3 separate regions of the Homo sapiens genome follow, and all the other regions are linked to region 2. The links are contacts of gene promoters, found by promoter capture Hi-C in blood cells and fetal thymus (Javierre and others, 2016). All regions are on one chromosome and are shown on one strand. The core of a region is centred on a gene start or on the middle of the fragment in contact, and the rest is flanking DNA. Distances in the headings are between cores, read along the strand shown. Region 1 overlaps LOC105376622 (a long non-coding RNA gene). Region 2 holds the start of QSER1 (glutamine and serine rich 1). Region 3 holds the start of DCDC1 (doublecortin domain containing 1).

Evidence for each region. Contacts are between HindIII fragments. The CHiCAGO score rates a contact against its expected background, and 5 or more counts as called.
Region 1: a fragment that was not itself captured here is called in contact with the fragment with the promoter of QSER1 in region 2 in 1 of 17 cell types (naive CD8 T cells); the score reaches 5.4 in naive CD8 T cells.
Region 3: a contact is called between a fragment that was not itself captured here and the fragment with the promoter of QSER1 in region 2, in 1 of 17 cell types (non-activated CD4 T cells). The highest score is 5.0, in non-activated CD4 T cells.

What each region holds. Positions count from the first base shown.
Region 1 is chr11:34,435,664-34,438,603 of GRCh38, reverse strand. LOC105376622 (a long non-coding RNA gene) reads right to left here. Exons shown (of 3, transcript XR_931180.3): 3 at 2,282-2,358. Among named protein-coding and RNA genes, the nearest start is that of CAT, 1.8 kb to the left of the region's middle. The HindIII fragment of the contact is 1,653 bases long and covers 463-2,115 here.
Region 2 is chr11:32,891,519-32,894,564 of GRCh38, reverse strand. It overlaps QSER1 (glutamine and serine rich 1), which reads right to left and starts at 1,754. Exons shown (of 13, transcript NM_001076786.3): 1 at 1,231-1,754. The coding sequence starts at 1,439. RefSeq lists silencers at 982-1,381, 1,462-2,081 and an enhancer at 2,829-3,046. The HindIII fragment of the contact is 2,155 bases long and covers 116-2,270 here.
Region 3 is chr11:31,367,588-31,370,556 of GRCh38, reverse strand. DCDC1 (doublecortin domain containing 1) reads left to right here and starts at 818. Exons shown (of 39, transcript NM_001387274.1): 1 at 818-860. DNAJC24 (DnaJ heat shock protein family (Hsp40) member C24) reads right to left here and starts at 697. Exons shown (of 5, transcript NM_181706.5): 1 at 645-697. RefSeq lists an enhancer at 405-884. The HindIII fragment of the contact is 497 bases long and covers 1,003-1,499 here.

The DNA of each region.
Region 1 (2,940 bases), core at 40-2,539, 1.5 Mb before region 2:
TTTTGCAGACGGAATACTTAGACCCTGCTGGGTGGGGCCTTGCGCTCCATAGCTATGCTTTCTCAGCTCTTAAAAAGTCAGCAATCCTGGGTTAAATTACTCTGTACAAAATTAAATTTTGCCATACGCTAATGTAAGTATTATTTGCAACCAAAGGATGGATGGATGCTTTTCTTTTTCTTTCTTAGCTCTTCTTAACTTATTCGTGGATTATCACTTACTAGACTAGTATACTAATTATTTAATATAAAAACACTCTGAAACGTTTATCTCCGTACAGATGGGTGTTGATTTCCTCCTTTACCAGAGAAAAACAACTTAACTTAGATGGGAAAAATGTATTCCCTTGTGATGGGAAAAATGTATTCAACTCTGGTACACTGCCAAATTGGCTTCTTTAAACACTGGAGAAATCTGCTTCCCCAAATTTTACCCCCAGGTAAGCAGGAATTTTGAAAAGCTTTGTGTCTTTAAAAAGCTATGTTGAAGAGTAAAATACTTAGTAATATATAGTACAATATTTAGTAAGTTACTGACTAGTTTGTCATTGTAATCAAAGAGTTTGAATGATTTCTACACCTCCTCAGGTGCTAGGATTTATCTTTAAGCACCTTAATATATATACATAGTATATACCATCATCTTCAAATTAAAAGTTATCAGCTTTTAATTTTTTCCAGTACAACTACATATAATGGGTGGATATATAATAGTGGAAACTTCACATGTTGTTCTTGATCTTACAAAAGTATGATAAGAATCTTGGGCATAAAAGTGGAACTTTAGCAGTTCATTGGAAAAGAAAGCCACAAATTGATCTTTAGCACCCTATACTTTTCCTATATTAAAAACAATTATAAAGATGCTGTTGGCTGTGTAATTTGGTGTCTTTTTCTACCTGCCCGATCCATACTGCCAAGACTGTAAACTCCATGTGGGTCAGGATCCTCCCATCCATAATTTATTGAGCACTTACTATATACCAGGGACTATTCTCAGCTTTTTGTATATTTGCTTAGTTAACCCTCCCAACAACCCTATGAGTTAGATACTAATATTATCTTCATTTTACAGATTAGGAAACAGAGGTATAGGGAGGTTAAATAACTTGCCCAAAGTTACACAGCTATTAAGGGATAGTCAGGATTCTAGCTTCAGCTGTTCATCTCCAAAGTCCACAGTTTGTTGAATAAATAAATGTTGAAATAATCGAGCAAATCATCTTCTTAACTAACCAACACAAATATCAACAAAATAAATAAGAGACCTGGAGTCATTTCTTAACCTTTATTCATTATATAAAAAAAAGCATGTTTTTTTTTCCTTTGTTTTTGTTACTATGGATTTGAATTCCTAAAGAATTATTTCTAGAGAAAGAAATGGAGAAACAAGACTGGTTTCTGATCTTGTCATATCTTGTATTTTAAAATAAAGGGCAGGCTTACAAGTAATGACAATAAATTTATAATGTTACATAGGAGGCTGGGTGCGGGGGCTCACGCCTGTAATCCCAGCACCTTGGGAGGCCGAGGCAGGCGGATCACTTGTGGCCAGAAGTTCGAGACCAGTCTGGCCAACATGGTAAAACCCCACCTCTGCTAAAAATACAAAAATTAGCTGGGCGTGGTGGCACACGCCTGTAGTCTCAGCTACTCAGGTGGCTGAGGCGAGAGAATCACTTGAACCCAAGAGGCGGAGGTTGCAGTGAGCCAAGATTGTGCCACTGCACTCCAGCCTGGGTGACAGAGTGAGGCTTCATCTCAAAAAAATTAAAAATTAAAAAAAGTCACATATTAGGTGGAAGTTCTATCGACTATAATTACAGCTTAAATGAAAACACTTCTTAAAATCAGCCCTAGTTAAAAAATACTTGAAACCAAACCAATACAATTACCTAAAGGTAATTGCAAGTGATTGGTTAGGTAAACAAATTGGGTTCTAGGTTTTAATATTTTAGTCATATGAATTCATGGGTATTTTTATTGATATAAATAAAAATGTTATTTTAAAAATGCTGTTCTCTGAAGTCAATTTTCAGAACTCAATGAAAATAAAATATACTGGCACAAGACATACTGTTATTAATCCTGGTATCAACAAATTTGAAACCAAGCTTGCAAAGTAGACCATGTAACAAATGTTCAAGAAAAACATTTGAGTACTCAGCTAGGAATCTTTATAGACAAATTTTATTTCATCAGTATTGCAAGAAAAGAATGGAGAGAATGAACATCATGTGTTGTTGGATGACAGGCATACAAGACAGCACAAGGGGTAATTACTCTGTTCTGATTCCACCCATCCTCAGAGAGGCCGAGAATGTTCTACATATTTCAGTTTCATTCTCTTCACAGTGGCCTTGTGAGGTAAATTCAGAGTTAGGCAAAAAGGAAGAGAAAAGAACACAACAAGAAACAAAGAGAGTTACAATTCAGTATTGGCTGTTGGCTTTAAGAGAAGAGAATAAACATCACCACAGCTCCATGACTCCTGTTCACTGTGGAACAGGCTTGAGCAAGCCAAAGAAGAAGGTGGGATTTGCTTTAAAAAGTAGCAGTGGTGTTATATGCAGTAGCAGCACATACCTTCTGCTCTGCCTATTTGGCTGCACCATATCTTTCCCGCTTTAATATGAATAATTGCCTACTTGGGAGGAGGCAACCCAGATGTCCTCTGGTGTCTGGTGATGGCCATAGCATGAGCTATGCTAAGGAGAAGAACATGGATGTGCCTTTTCCCGCCTCGGCCTTACGTGCCACGCTACTGATCTGGTGTTTGCAAAAAAAGGAAACATAGGCCAGGCCTGGTGGCTCATGCCTGTAATCCCAGCACTTTGGGAGGCCAAGACAGGTGGATCTCTTGAGGTCAGGAGTTCAAGACCAGCCTGGTCAACATGGCAAAACCCTGTCTCTGCTAAAAATACAAAAATTAGCTGGGCGT
Region 2 (3,046 bases), core at 505-3,004:
CGTAAAAACAAAGAAGATAACCTGGAACACGGTAATGTATAAACTTAAAACAAAAGTTCACTTCTGTCGTGAAAAATAATGAAGAAATCTGATGAGATCATAAAGCCACGAAGCTTCCTGTTGGTAGCTGAGGATGAAGTCATTAGCAACCCAGGATTCCCTGGTCCATGTAATCAGAAGCTGCACCTACCAGATTCTGTATTGTTCGGGAGAGGTGGCTTTAAAACACCCCGCTCACCAATTCTCCAAACCAGACCACGCCTTCCAGTTATCATTCAAATGGGACCGTTTCACAGTGTGGCACTACTACACATTTCCCGCGAGCTTAAATATCAAGTAGGAGTCAAAATTTTAGATTCCCTTGGTCATGCAAGATGAACTCTTGAACCCCACGCTACATAATGCACCCGGACCTTAAAGGCCGAGATGGAGAAGCATGCTTTGGTTCTTCAACCTTTACGGCCTTCACTACCCCCACCCCAACCCCCGCCCCATTTCTTCCCAACTCTCAGTCACCCCGAGGCATAGAAGGCAAAGAAAGATTCCTTACTTCCTGCTGTTGTTAAAAGGGGAGGAAACCTAAGAGCAACTTTGAACGCGTGGAAGAAAAATCGCCTAAATCTTGGCCACCAGCGCAAACATATGTCACCCGGCCCTGGAGCCGCGTTCGCGCCCTGCCGGGCCCCCTCTTCTGCCCTGCGCCCCGGGGATTCTCCCGTAGCCCAGCCCTCCCGGGCCCCCCAGTGTCTCCGGGACGCGGTTCCGCGACTCTTCCTCTCCCGCCTCCGCAACCCTCACACGCCGGAGTCCCCAAGACCGCATTGTCGGCCACCCAGGTTCCAATACAATGGATCGCCACTGCCCCAAACTCTCCGGCGCCCCCTTCGGACCCCCGGCGCCAATCCTGGGTCTCACAGATCCCGAGTTCAGCCACGAGCCCAAACTTCACCATGTGAGAGCCCAGGACCCAAGAGGTGACGGAGCCCCACGACTCCCGCCCAGCTATTCCTTCACCCGCCGTCCCCAGGCGCGAATCCTGCACCGGGCGCCCCCACCTACCCGCGACCACCCCGTAGGAGTCATCAGCCGCCTCCCCCGAGCTGGCCGAGGGCGAGCGGAGGGCTCCCCGCCCGGCCCAGACCTCTGGGCGGCGCTGCAACCGAGCGAAGGCCCCAAACGCATCCCCGGCCTTTCCTGGTCCACCGCGACCCCGCCGCCCACCCTCCCTACCTGGCCTTGAGGCTGGGGCTGCTGCCGCTACTGCAGCTGCCACTGCTGCAGCTGCTGCTGGCGGCGGCGGCGGCGGCTCGGGGTTCGTACGCCCAGGCTGGGGCGGGGGGCTGCGCAGCGGCGCTGGCGGGGACGGGGGCGGCGGGGGGCGCGGGCGGCGGCGGCGGCGGCGGCTCGGTGAAGCCCGAGGTCGCGTAGTTCCTGTCCATCGTGGGGGTGGCGTAGGGAGGGCGGGCAGCAGCGGGGGATCCTCCAGGGCTCCGTGTGACGGGGGCGGGCAGGGAGAGGGGGCGGGGGAGGAAGAGGGGGCGGCGGCGGTGGAGGGAGCTGCCCCCTCACATGGCCCCGGCGAGCAGGCGGGAGAAGGGCGCGCTGGCGAGTCTGGGCCGCAAAGACCCGGGCCGCGGCGGGCGGCGAGGCCCCAGCTGGGCGTCAGGGAAGCGGAGGCACCCGCGGCCGGGACTCGCGGCGACGGCGGCGGCGGCGGCGGCCGCTGCGCCCCATGTTGGTGGATTTCCCAGGATGCACCTCCCGCCCCCCTCCGCCCCGCGGCCTTGCCCCGCCTCCCCTCTGAGCCCCGCGCTTGCCGCTCGCGGGGCTGGCGGGCGGCCGCGAGGCCTCCGCCACCGCAGGACGCTTCGCGAGGGACAGTTGGGGCCGAGAAGGCGCGGGTCCTGCGGGGCCCGGCCGACTTCAGGGACTCCGAGGGGCGCCCGCCAGCCGGAGCCCGCGAACCGCAGACTTCCCGCCTTCCGCAGCCCGGAAGGGAGCTGTCCGCACTCGCCGCGGCCCGCGTGGGAAGGGACCGCGCCTGGCTATCGCCCCGCGCGGGGGAGGGGAAGTGGAGTGGAACCCAGCGTAGGGCGCTGCTCAGGGGTAGCCGGGTCAACGCTTTGCTTGGAGCTCACTATTTGACCCTTCGGGTTATTTTGAGGGACTCCAGTACTCAGTTCCCTGATCGCGATTTCTTTCTCTGCGCCCCAATCCAGAAACAGCTGAGCGAGCTCTTTTGCAGTTCCGCTTACTCCCTCCCCAAAGCTTGCTGGGCTAGAGGACCCTTTTCCTGCTGTTAGGGGAGATTTATATTCAAAGAGATTCAAATTCAAACGTATTATTTTCCAATCCTCGCTGAAAGGGCCTTTCCCAAGGGCTCTTATTAACTGTCCCCACCCCCACCTTGGGGATTTTTCTCGCTCTGGGTTTCAGAATCTTCTATCCCAAGATAGATAACCACCTCTTCATTGATTAATCCAACTACCATCTGGATGACTTTAATTACAATAAATTTAAACTCACCATGCACTCTGATGTTGAGGGGTTTTGTTTGAGACTTGGAACTTCAGCAGGACTCTCTCCCCAAACATTTCCTATCTGATCTCCAAGCTGCTTGGTGTGCGGTAATTTAATGACTATTTGCGGTTCTTCTGTTGCATAGCAGAGTTGTATTTCTTGTAATAACTCACAAGTATTGAAACTAGGGAATCGTACAAATCATCGTTTGGCCCTTGGGCCATAAATTTAAAGGTTAAAATAACAGTAAAATTTCTATTTAATGACCACCTCCTTTTAAAAATCAATATTGGTTTAACACCTATTATGTGCTTAGCACAGAAATCTATCCCTCAAGATAAGCATAACATAAAGGTTTAAGCAAATCAGCCGTAGTGAAAGACCTAATAAACTTGATACGCTATCTCTGATGACCATTGAAAAAGTTTAAACTTTGGTAATAATCTGGTGTTGGATCTGCTATGCCTTGCGAGATTAATTTTGTTCTGGAAGATCCTGTTTTCCTCCTGGCGCCTACATCCTTTTG
Region 3 (2,969 bases), core at 2-2,501, 1.5 Mb after region 2:
TCCAGGTATAAGTGTACCGACAAGTATGGAAAACGTGTTAGGTATTTCACGATATATATTTATACTTTAATTAATGAACAGCATTAAAAAAAAGAATTTTATAATGAACCAGGTGGTGTATGAACCTCTAAGAAGGTATTTCTGCTAGTCTTATGATAAAACTGGCACACAAGTAAGCACCCACTAAACACGCTGGAGGAGCTTAATGAATATTTACAAAATGAACGAATAAAAAAAAAGCAAAACAGAACATCAAAGAATTAAAATAAATTTGGGGGCATTCCTTCTGAAAGTTTCTCGTTTGCTTTTCCTCCAGATTGTCTGGAGAGCATGATATGGGAAATAACGTCAGCACCAGCTGGTAGAGAACAAGAGTCCCCTGTTATTGGAGAGGCGCTGAGACCTCGCAAAGACAGAGTGAAACTCTCTACGCGAGGATGCCCCAGTCTTCCACGCTCCAGAAGAGAGACCCTACCAGGAGCCCCAGAAATCAGGCAACCTCTTCCCACAGCTATATACACTTAACGAAACAGCCGGGGCCTCCTCAAGCTCGGGACTTGGGAATCTTCTCCATTCACAGTCGGCTTTACCCACCCAGCCATTGGCGGGCACCCTCTCCGCGCTTTATACGACATCAGACCTACCTAACTTCACATAGGCGCTGCTACCCACTCCTCGCCTGCTGTCGGCCAGAACTCCGGACCGGCTTCTTCTTCCGCCGGAAGTCACTGTTCCGACGTGTTCGCGTTTCTGGCCGAGCTGATGTGGCCGTGGCACAGCTCAGAAGCGACGCTCCGCCCACCCCGACGCGGTCTCTATGGTAACCGGTCACCGCTTCTATGGAGTGGCGTTTACTACCAGTAAGTTCCCAAACTGTGAAGAAAGGCGCCTTTGGCTTCGCTCTAAGTCTCTCTTTTCCGGGCCCCGCGACTGTCGCTTCTCTCCTCCTCCTCAGCGAGCACCCCCTCGCCATCCCAGGCTTTCCCCGCCTTTTTCAAAGCTTCCTCCGTTTACCGTACCCTGAGCTACTCTCAATCTTTTCGGTTGGTGCTTGAACTCTGGGGTGAGAGAGGGGTGCGGGGGCAAGGATGTGAGAAGGATGAGGAGACCTGATGCCACTCTCGTCCCTACAGTTCCTTTACAATGTTCTAATTCGAAAATTAAAAGAACTAAAACCTATGCCAGGTAGGGCTAGATGTGCGGGGGATGGGGTCGGTTTAATTTTTTCTGCAGAAGATATTCGACGTAATTATTAATATTTCTTTTAGACCTTAGCAACCAACTTACAACATAAAAACGTTCCAAAATTCTTTCACATTTGCTATTTCACTTCGCTTTCATTTCAACCCAGTGAGACAAGTAAGGCAGGTGCCATTATTCCCACTTTATAGATGAGGAAAGAAATCAAGGATCAAGGCCAAACAGCTAGTTGGGTAGGGGCAGAACAAGGACTCAGCAAGTCTACACATTCCCAGGGCAGCTATGCTATCTTTCAAGCTTACAGAAAAAAGCAGAATGAACTGTTCTTCTTCGAAGCAGTTAGGGGGCACTGCATATGGGCACTGTTGGGGTTTGTTATTGTTGCTGGTGGTGGTGGTGGTGGTGGTGGTGGTGTTTTTCTCACCTTTCTTTCTTCTCCCTTTCTTGATTCCTGTGTTTCCTTTTATTACTTCTTTGTGCTGCTTACTTTACATTAACACCTCTTCCTAGCATTGTACCTGGAGATGAAAACTACATCTTATTTTTGGCCAGCATGACATAAATTTCACTTGGAGATGTTAAAATGGTTTTGTTGTTACTGCTTTGATTTTGCTTTCCTTCTTTTTTAAACTTCTACCAATCTGAGTTTGAGAAGCAGTCAAGATAAACTTAAGCAGAATAAATAAAATAATCTAATATGATCAGTTATTTAATGATGTTATGAACTATAAAGAATAACTGAATGAAACAAGCAAGTTTAAAAATCTAAAGATGAAAGCATAGATTAGGTTCTCCACAGGGTTTTGTCATGTTTAAAGGCAGATACAAAGAGCATCTGGTTTTAGTCCTGGCTGCATCATACTTTCTTGTGTGGCCTCATGAAAATACCTAAAGCAATGGAATTAAGTAGTGTGGTGAATGCTTTTCTAAACAGTACTGTCAGAATGATGCCACCTTGAACATCTCTAGCCCTCAAACTCCCTTCTGTCCACAGCTTGGTTCTTCCTTGTGTAGGTAGATATGCTCCGGTACTCCAGGTTTTTTGTTTTTTACAGCAAAAGCATTTTATTTTGATTTACTATTTATTAGGTTATTGTGTTACCTTATTTATTTATTGGGGTTTGGAAAGTAAGAAATAGTTTTTTTCCCCAGCAATACCAAATATTTTGTCATTTCATCTCTACATACTTTAGTTTGCATCCCTAAAATGTACCAACTTTTTCTTTTATCTCCATAATGTCATTATTGGACTGTCACATAATATCTAGACCTTACTTACATTTCCACGGTTAATTGAAAATGTCTTTTTCTGGTTGGTTTGCTTGACTCAGAATCAGACAAAATGTACACTTTCCATTTAGCTGTTCTGTCTCTTAAATATCTTTTAAATTATAGCAGTCCCATTTCTTCACTAGAACCTTGTTTTTTTCTTTACTTGCCATTGGCTTACTGAATGAGAACAGTTGTCTTACACTCTGCTTATACCAAAATAAACTTCTTAAAACAATTTTTACATAAATTTCTGATCATTAAGCTTCCTTCATTTTTCATTTTATAGAGCAGTACTTTCCAATAGAAATATAATGTAAGCCGTAAGTGCAAGCTACAAAATTAATTAATCTAAAAATTATTAAGGCGATACTTTACATTCTTTTCTCCTACTAAGTCTTCAAAAGCTGGTATGTATTGTGCCCGAACACACCTCAATTTGAACTAGCACATTTCAAATGCTCAGTAGCCACATGTGACTAGTGGCTACTGTATCCAGC